Linked DNA regions of Homo sapiens: region 2 is linked to region 1. Evidence: promoter capture Hi-C in 16 types of primary human blood cells and fetal thymus (Javierre and others, 2016). All regions are on one chromosome and are shown on one strand. The core of a region is centred on a gene start or on the middle of the fragment in contact, and the rest is flanking DNA. Distances in the headings are between cores, read along the strand shown. Region 1 holds the start of C1orf146 (chromosome 1 open reading frame 146). Region 2 overlaps EVI5 (ecotropic viral integration site 5).

Region 1 (4,262 bases), core at 954-3,453:
ATCTAACACTATGAGTTAAGGAGGACACCAAAGTAACAAATATACCCAGAGAAGAAAAGAGGTCCAAGGACTGAGCTTGCGGCACTCCAAGCAAGATTAAAAGGTTGGGTTTTGAGGAAGAACCAATAAGGATGCTGATAAATGGCCAGTGAGGCTGGAGGGAAACCATGAGAGCATGATATGGGGAAGCCAAGGAAAGAAAGTTTTTCCAGGAGGAGGGAATGATCAACTGTAACAAGTACTGCTGATTGACCAAGTAAAATTAGTATTGACAGCTGTTTGCTGGATTTACCAATGACTTTGACATGAGCAATTTCTGTGGTATGGTGGAAATGAAAAAGTCTGATTGGAATAAATTTGATAAAGAATGGGAAAAAAGGGCATTAGCAACAGAAATTATAGACAATCCTTTTGAGTTTTTCTGTAAAGAGAGCAGAGAAATGGATTGTTAGCTGGTGTGGGAGAGGAGATTAAGAGATTTTAAGATGAGAGAAATAATGGCATATTTATTTGCTATTGAGACTATTCAGTGGAGAGGAGAAAATTGAAGATTGTAAGAGTCAGGAAATAATTGGTGGATATATATATATATATATATATATATATATTTTTTTTTTTTTGAGACAGTTTTGCTCTGTTGTTCAGGCTGGAGTGCAGTGGCATGATCTTGGCTCACTACAACCTCTGCCTCCCAGGTTCAAGCAATTCTCCTGCCTCAGCCTCCCAAGTAGCTGGGACTACAGGTGTGCACCACCACACCTGGCTAATTTTTTGTATTTTTAGTAGAGATGAGGTTTTGCCATATTGGCCAGGCTGATCTTGATCTCCTGACCTTGTGATTCACCTGCCTCAGCCTCCCAAAGGGCTGGGATTACAGGCGTGAGCCACCGCGACTGGCCGGTGGAGCTATATTCTTGGGTAAGCAAGAAGAGATGGGCTCTGTTGTCCATTTGAGGGCTGGCCTTACATAGGATTATACAGTTCACCTACTATAGTTGGAAAGAAAGCAGAATCTGGCATATAGATGTTGGTAGATTGGTAGGTGGACATCTGTGGAACTTCGTTTCTGGATGCTTTTATTTATCTCATTTGAATAGTATTTAATATTAAATACTAAATACTATTAAAATCATAAATCTTTATGAAATATTAGCAGTAACTATTTCACTTCAGCCGAAAATGAAGATGAGGAATAAGTTCTGGAGATTTGAAGAGAGGAGGAATTGTCTTAGTCCATTATGGCCACGATAACAAAATACCTTAGACCAGGTAATTTATAAACAAGAGGCCAGGTGTGGTGGCTTAACAAACTGCCCAAATGAGGCAGCAAGAGTGCACCTAATTTTAATATCAGTTATACAAAATGCCAAACATACAAAATGGTTATCACAGGGAAAAATTAACAGCACATCACAAGTGTGCTCCAAAGGATTTTTCCTGGAGCACCTTTCTTTCTACAGGAATACCTGTTTTACAAAGTAAGGCACATAGTTTTGTATCCTAACCATTAGGCTCAAGGCAAGTAGTGGTCTTTGTCTTTTTACATTTTTATGATTGTGACACTTAATAAATTGCTGAGCTTCAATTAGGTCTGAACATAATGGGGTCCTAAAAAGCAAACACACAGGCCCCTGTATGTCCTTTTGACAGCTGCTCATGAAAATCTACCTTTTTCATAATTTGGATAAACTGAAGGCCACTTTGATTTTATGTTGCAAATGACAGAAATCTAAGAATTGAGCCTGAATTTTAGAAAACTGTGAAAATCAATTCCGGACAACTGAGTCTAACACGCAAAAATCTTGTTTTTTTTTTTTTTTTTTTTTTGAGACGGAGTCTTGCCCTGTCACCCAGGCTGGAGTGCAGTGGTGCGATCTCGCTCACTGCAACCTCCGCCTCCTGGGTTCAAGCGATTCTCCTGCCCCAGCCTCTCGAGTAGCTGGGATTACAGGTGCGCGCCTCCATGCCCAGCTAATTTTTGCATTTTTAGTAGAGACGGGGTTTCACCATGTTGGTACGCTGGTCTCAAACTTCTGACCTCGTGATCCGCCCACCTCGGCCTCCCAAAGTGCTGGGATTAGTGGCATGAGCCACCGCGCCAGGCCTACAAATCTTGTATCTTCTTAACCACTTCCGGCTTCCTGCAAACCTCGCTCTAGGGAGCCAGAAGCGCGGAAAAGGTTTGCGGGGTCTGCGGTTGCGCAGAAGCCCAGCGACTGCAGAACCCTGCCCCAGGCACCCTGGGCGCTCTGCCCTACCGGCGGCGCCTCTCACTGCTCACGGAACGTTCTGGAAGTTTGGGAAACCCTGAGCGGTCTCTGAGGACCTGGTGAGCAGGTGGGTTTGCAGCGCTGGGGATGAGGCCTCGGCAGACCTGTCTCTTCGCGTTTTTCTTTCTTCGTTCTTCGCCGGCGTAGTGCTCTCTGACTTGCCGAGCTCAGAGCTTTACCTCAGGGCTTTGGCGGGTGAGGGGAGGAGATCCTGCCCACCCTATTTTCCCCTTGAGAATCGGTGTGGAAAGGGCTCCCTCGGGGTTTTCCCTGTCAGAAGTCCGTCACCCACCTGCGAGTGTAAATTTTATTTGCTTTAGGCTTTGTTGGTCACTCCGAAAAGTAAAGAATGGAAGAGACCGTGAAGATCCTTGTAGGCCGGCGCCTCACTGGACCCGTGAGGAGACTGAGCAGGGAAAGTGACTTGCTGGAGATGATGGGGCAGTGTTAAACTTAAATTTGCAAACACTCCAGAGCTTGGAAAAAACAAAACAGTAGCAACAAAAGCCCAGAATACCAGGGCCTTGGAACTGGCAAAGGTTTAAGAGGCCACTGGGCCCACGCTTTTTGTTTTTATTTTTAATTTAACTTTTATGTTAGGTTCAGGAGTCCGTGTGCAGGTGTGTTACATAGGTTAAACTCGTGTCACGGGAGTTTGTTGTCCAGATTCTGTCGTCCCCCAGGTGCCCATTAGTGACTGTCCCTCCTCCACCTTCTGGTCCCCCGGTCCCGTCCCCCGCGCCTGCCCCTCCCCTCTGTCCCTGCACGCTCAGCGTTCACCTCCCGTTTAGAAGCTTTTTGTTTTCAGGTGAGGATGCAGCCTAACCAGAGGTGACGTGATTTGCCCAAAGCCACACAGTCCTTGCTTGGCTGCTGGTCGAGGAGCTTTTCCCCAGAAATGCTGAGAAGGCACTGCCCCAGCCCCAGGTTTCTGATTCATTCCTCACCTTTAACAGGGACTTGGGACACGACTGACCCCACTCCTTTCTCACTTATTGTGCACGTGATTACTTTACTTCTCTTAGCTTTAGTTAAATTGTTTTTAAAACCTATGTATAAGGGTGTAAAGATTTAAATGAACATTTATGGATTACTAACTGATAGGCACAAACATACATATCCACATACATACCAGTAACTACTCCAAAAAGTTCTTGTAACCTTTGCATATATGTATTCATAGCTATGTGGGTGTATTAGTAAGTATGTGTAGGGGGGGTTATAGAAGTTGAAGCCCTTCCCCCAGCCAACTCACCATTTACTCATTCACAAATCTTTGAGTGTCTACTGAGTGCCAGGTGCTGAGTAAGGTAAAACAGAATCAGAATGTGTCCCTGCTCTCATGGAGCTAGTTAACTTCTCATTCATTCATTCATGCAATAAATGAGGAAATTAGAGAGCAGCTGGTTTCAACTCAGCAGGAAGAACTTTCTAATTATTAAAGTTGTTGAAAAGTAGAATGAAATCACCTTGGGAGATACTAACTTACCATCACTGAAAGTGACTTTCTCTTTCTTTTTTTTTTTTTTTTTTTTTTTTTAAGACAGAGTCTCGCTCTATCACCCACGCTGGAGTGCAGGAATGGGATCTCAGGTCACTGCAACCTCCACCTCCTGGGTGTGCAGCCACACCTAAGGAATGGGGAGTTATATTCCCCACCCCCACTGTTTAATATTTTTAGAGACAGGGTCTTGCTATGTTGCCCAGGCTGGAGTACAGTTGTTATTTACAGGTGCAAACATAATGCACTGCAGCCTCAAACTCTTGGCCTTAAGCAATCCTCCTGCTTCAGTCTCCCGAGTAGCTTGAATTATAGGTGTGTGCCACTGTGCCCAGCTCCATGCTCCTGTTCTTAAGGTTGGAGTATATATACATAAATTTTTTGGAATTATTCTGCACAGATTTGTCTCTTCTCCATTTATTGGTTTGTTCAAACCTTTATATCAGTATAGACTCATGGATATTCACTTTATACTTTGGATTATAATGCTA
Region 2 (4,416 bases), core at 1,519-4,018, 420 kb after region 1:
ACCCGCTCAGATGAAATTTTCCCGAAATGTCTATGTATTAGTCCTATTCTATCTCTTCCACATGAAAATATTGCAATATTTGATGATAACAGTTAATTTCTGTCACCTGAGTTTCTCTCTTCTGCAACATTTAGATACTCTTTTTATGAAAATTATTCTGGTCGTTTTCCTCCAAAAGGGCTCTAATCTCCATTTTTATCCTTAAATACGGGGCTGTGATTAGTATGAAGGCAACAAGGAATAACTGGCAATTTTAAAAATCTTTTTTTCCTTTTCCTCTTAGTAACTAATATGTAAGGCTTCTAATGTATAAAAACACCAAGTCAATTAAATTGCTCAGTAAGTACTTAATAAATATCACATATCCCCTCTAATTTGGGAATGACTGCATTTGTGTAGGTTTCTTACCTTCTCTATATCCAAGACTTTATCCTGCATCTCTTTTAATGCACACTGAGACTCAGCTTCACTCAGTCGGGCTTGGACCAATTCCTTCTCTAGCTGTAGCACAAAATCTTCGTTGTAGTTGGAACTGCATTTATGCTAAAGGTTACAGACATACACTGAAATTTCATGAAAGTATAAACATGTATATACAATAAAAACAATGCAACCACATAATACAGTTATATTACATTAAGGGCAACTAAATAGGAGAAGTTCCATCTACCCAATATTTCCAATGTATCTCCTCCAATTAACTTCTCCAATGAGTAAAAAAGCCCACCTTTGATATCTATAAAGATGACCACATTATTGGGTTTTGGTAACTAGTTATTACGCTGATCAAATCTGATTCATATAAGATAAACATCTCCTTTTATCTGTCCATCCATCCAGATACAAAGAATTTTTTCTGACTTTACAGACCTACACTGCACAATAAATAGGATAGCAATTAGCCACATGTGGCTACTGAACACTTGAAATGTGGCTAATACAGATTAAAACAAGTTATAAGTATAAAATACAAACTGGATTTTGAAGAATTAATATGAAATAAAAAAATCTCAATGATTTTTATATTGATTACATTAAAATAATATTTTGAATATACTGAGGTAAATAAAAATATTAATTTTACCTTTTTTTGCTCCTTTTAATGTGGGTATTAGAAAATCTTAAATTGCATATGTGACACATTATATTGCTATTTGATAGTACTGTTATATACTACAGAAGACATGTAAAGATTACTGAAAAATATATTTTAATCTAATAGAAAAAAAACAGGGTACCTACAATAATGTGAACCATCTAAATTCCAAAATAACAAAATTGTATTTGTCCTTAGAAATGTAGAAATCTTCTTCAAAAGATATGCATGGTTTCCCAGCACTTTGGGAGGCCGAGGCGGGTGGATCACTTGAGGCCAGGAGTTCAAGATCAGCCTGGCCAACGTGGTGAAACCCTGTCTCTACTAAAAATACAAAAATTAGCTGGGCATGGTGGCACACGCCTGTAATCCCCGCTACTAGGGAGTGTGAGGCAGGAGAATGGCTTGAGCCCGGGAGGTGGAGGTTGCAGTAAGCCAAGATCATGCCACTGTACTCCAGCCCAGGTGACAGAGCAAGACTCTTGTCTCAAGAAAAAAAAAAAAAAAAGATATACATAGAAATAATTGCTGGAAGTAGAGAAGACGCAGATGCTGCACAAAGAAATTAACCACGGAAGCACGCAACTTTCCCATTTGCTTTCCTACTCTATAAAACATGAATATTGATGCAAACACTTAAGTCGTCATTTTTAAGCCAGTGCCCATAGAAAAGCTTCTGTACAAAAGCAATATGTAATTCATCATTATAAAATACTTTCTAAAATAAATTGTCTATCACTTCACATTTAATTTATGTAGTAAAGAAAATGTGGCAACTCAAAATTTCAAAATAAAGTCATAAAAAACAATCTTCTACTGAACTAGCATGAATAAAGCACAGTTATTTTTACTCTTTAATATGTTAGGAACAAAACAGATGTCAAATCAAAACTATTAAAAATAACCAGATGCTTAATACATGGTACTCTCCTGCCCCAGTTACCAAAAAAAGATGTGCAAATGAGGACTTTAATTCAATGCATTATACATTATTTCTTCTAGTAATTTTGATACTATTGAAACAATATTTCAATACGAGAAGTGCATCTGCAACAGACACATCATCTTAGCAAATACTTACCTTTTATCAATTAGGAAAAAGGCATTCTTTTGGAATGACCACATCCAAACTAGATGTGCCATAATTTATTTAATTAGATCACAGTTATTTCGTGGGTACTGGAAGAATTTTTTTGCCCTCAACTTAAAGCCCTGGCAACTGTAGCACAGGTTTGTTTGCAAAGACTTTATATTAGAAGATCCCCAAGAAAACATCAAACTCAAAGGCCCATATGAGAATGGAATTCTTGATTGGCATAAACCAACTAATCCAATCAAGTACAAAAAGCTATAGTAATGTTGGGCACAAATCTTTATTAATAAAATTTACAGAGAGCTGAAATGCTCTGATAACAAGTCATTCTGGATAATATATATCTTATGCTTTTTATACTCTAAAACATATTATTTTAGTCTTCTGGATTAAAATAACTCTAAACGTATTATGTAAATTTTTTTGCCACTGACAGAGTTTACAGAATATAATTCCCAGGTCATCATGATGGTGGCCAATTAACATACTGCAAATTACACAGTGTCTAAGGAAAAGATGCTGCTGTGAACTATAAATTACCTGAAGCTAACCACTGTAGTTTCAATTTATTCTATTTTCCACAGGGGGAAAACAGTTTTATAAACATGTTTTAATGTTTGACAGAAATGACAATTATGACAGCAGCTAACATCTACTCACCACTTACTATGTGCCAGACACATGTTAAGCACTTTATATTCTCCTTTAACCTTCACCACAATTACTGTCTTACTAATAAGGAAACTAATAGGGTACACCAAGGTCAAACAGCAGTTGATAGTGCTATTAATTGACAGTTTGTATTACAGAGCCCATGTTCCTCACCTTTAAGCCATATAGGTGTTGAAGAGTTTAATATATTGTTTTAATATATACTGTTCTAAAAATTAATTATATAATATTAAAAAAATCCAAACCTCTAAAAAAAATCTAAGCATATAGATCTCACATAATGTTCTTGTATTAAGAAATTCCTAGAAGAGTGCATTTCATATTCAAGTGAGTAACTTGGACAGACACACAATTTGTTTTACCAAATGACAACTGCCACAATTATGATGGCTGGCAGTCTCAGCAAGGGGAGCCGTTTATTTAAAAGCATAGAAATGACAGATGACTTCTCTATACTTACATCAAGTTAATTTATGTAAATGAATCTCATAATGTTTCTGTGATACCAGCAATCCCATTCCAATGAAACTGACAGAAATTCTTTTTAGTAAGCAGAGTCTGCTTTTCAATCCTATGTGCTTTTCTGGTGTTGCAAAAATTACAAAGGTAAAGGTAAGTTAGAAAGTCCTCAGTAATCCTTTTTGCTTGTGTCTTGAGCTTAAAAAAAAATCTTCAATATTTGAAGGAAATAGGAGTAATACAGTAAAAAGTAAATATTTGTATTGGGGGAAGTTTCTCATATTATTAAAAAAAATTTCAATATTTGAAGGAAATAGGAGTAATACAGTAAAAAGTAAATATTTGTATTGGGGGAAGTTTCTCATATTATTAAGTGAAAAAAAATTGAAATTAGAAAAAGGGTTGTCCATGCAAATGTATCCAATATTGCTTGAATTTAAGTATACATTAAGCTTTTAACTAAGTTCAAGATATGACATTTATATGCTCTTTTCAGGAACCCAAACATTTCATGGAACCCTGTTCTCATCTCTTTTGTAACACTTATCACAACTCTAAATAAAAAATTGTGCATGCTGCCCAAAGTAATTATAGATTCAATGCTATTCCCATCAAACTACCATTGACATTCTTCACAGAATTAGAAAAAAACTACTTTAAATTTCATATGGAACCAAAGAAGAGCCTGTATAGCCAAGACAATCCTAAGCAAAAAGAACAAAGCTGGAGGCATCACGCTACCTGACTTCAAACTATACTACAAGGCTACAGTAACCCAACAGCATGGTACTGGTACCAAAAAGACATATAAACCAATGGAACAAAACAGAGACCTGAGAAATAACACCGTACTTCTACAACCATCTGATCTTCAACAAACCCGACAAAAGCAATGGGGAAAGGATCTCCTATTCAATAAATGGTGCTTGGAAAACTGGCTAGCCATATGCAGCAAACTGAAACCGGATCCCTTCCTCACATGTTATACAAAAATTTACTCAAGATGGATTGAAGACTTAAATGTAAAACCCCAAACCATAAAAACCCTAGAAGAAAACCTAGGCAATACCATTCAGGACATAGGCATGGGCAAAGA

Evidence for each region. The method cuts DNA at HindIII sites, captures the fragments that hold promoters and counts their contacts. A CHiCAGO score of 5 or more calls a contact.
Region 2: a fragment that was not itself captured here is called in contact with the fragment with the promoter of C1orf146 in region 1 in 2 of 17 cell types (fetal thymus and total CD8 T cells); the score reaches 7.1 in fetal thymus.

The regions. Positions count from the first base shown.
Region 1 is chr1:92,215,712-92,219,973 of GRCh38, forward strand. It overlaps C1orf146 (chromosome 1 open reading frame 146), which reads left to right and starts at 2,204. Exons shown (of 6, transcript NM_001012425.2): 1 at 2,204-2,337. The HindIII fragment of the contact is 5,529 bases long and covers 1-3,062 here.
Region 2 is chr1:92,635,794-92,640,209 of GRCh38, forward strand. It overlaps EVI5 (ecotropic viral integration site 5), which reads right to left. Exons shown (of 20, transcript NM_001350197.2): 14 at 409-543. Among named protein-coding and RNA genes, the nearest start is that of EVI5, 150 kb to the right of the region's middle. The HindIII fragment of the contact is 2,003 bases long and covers 1,768-3,770 here.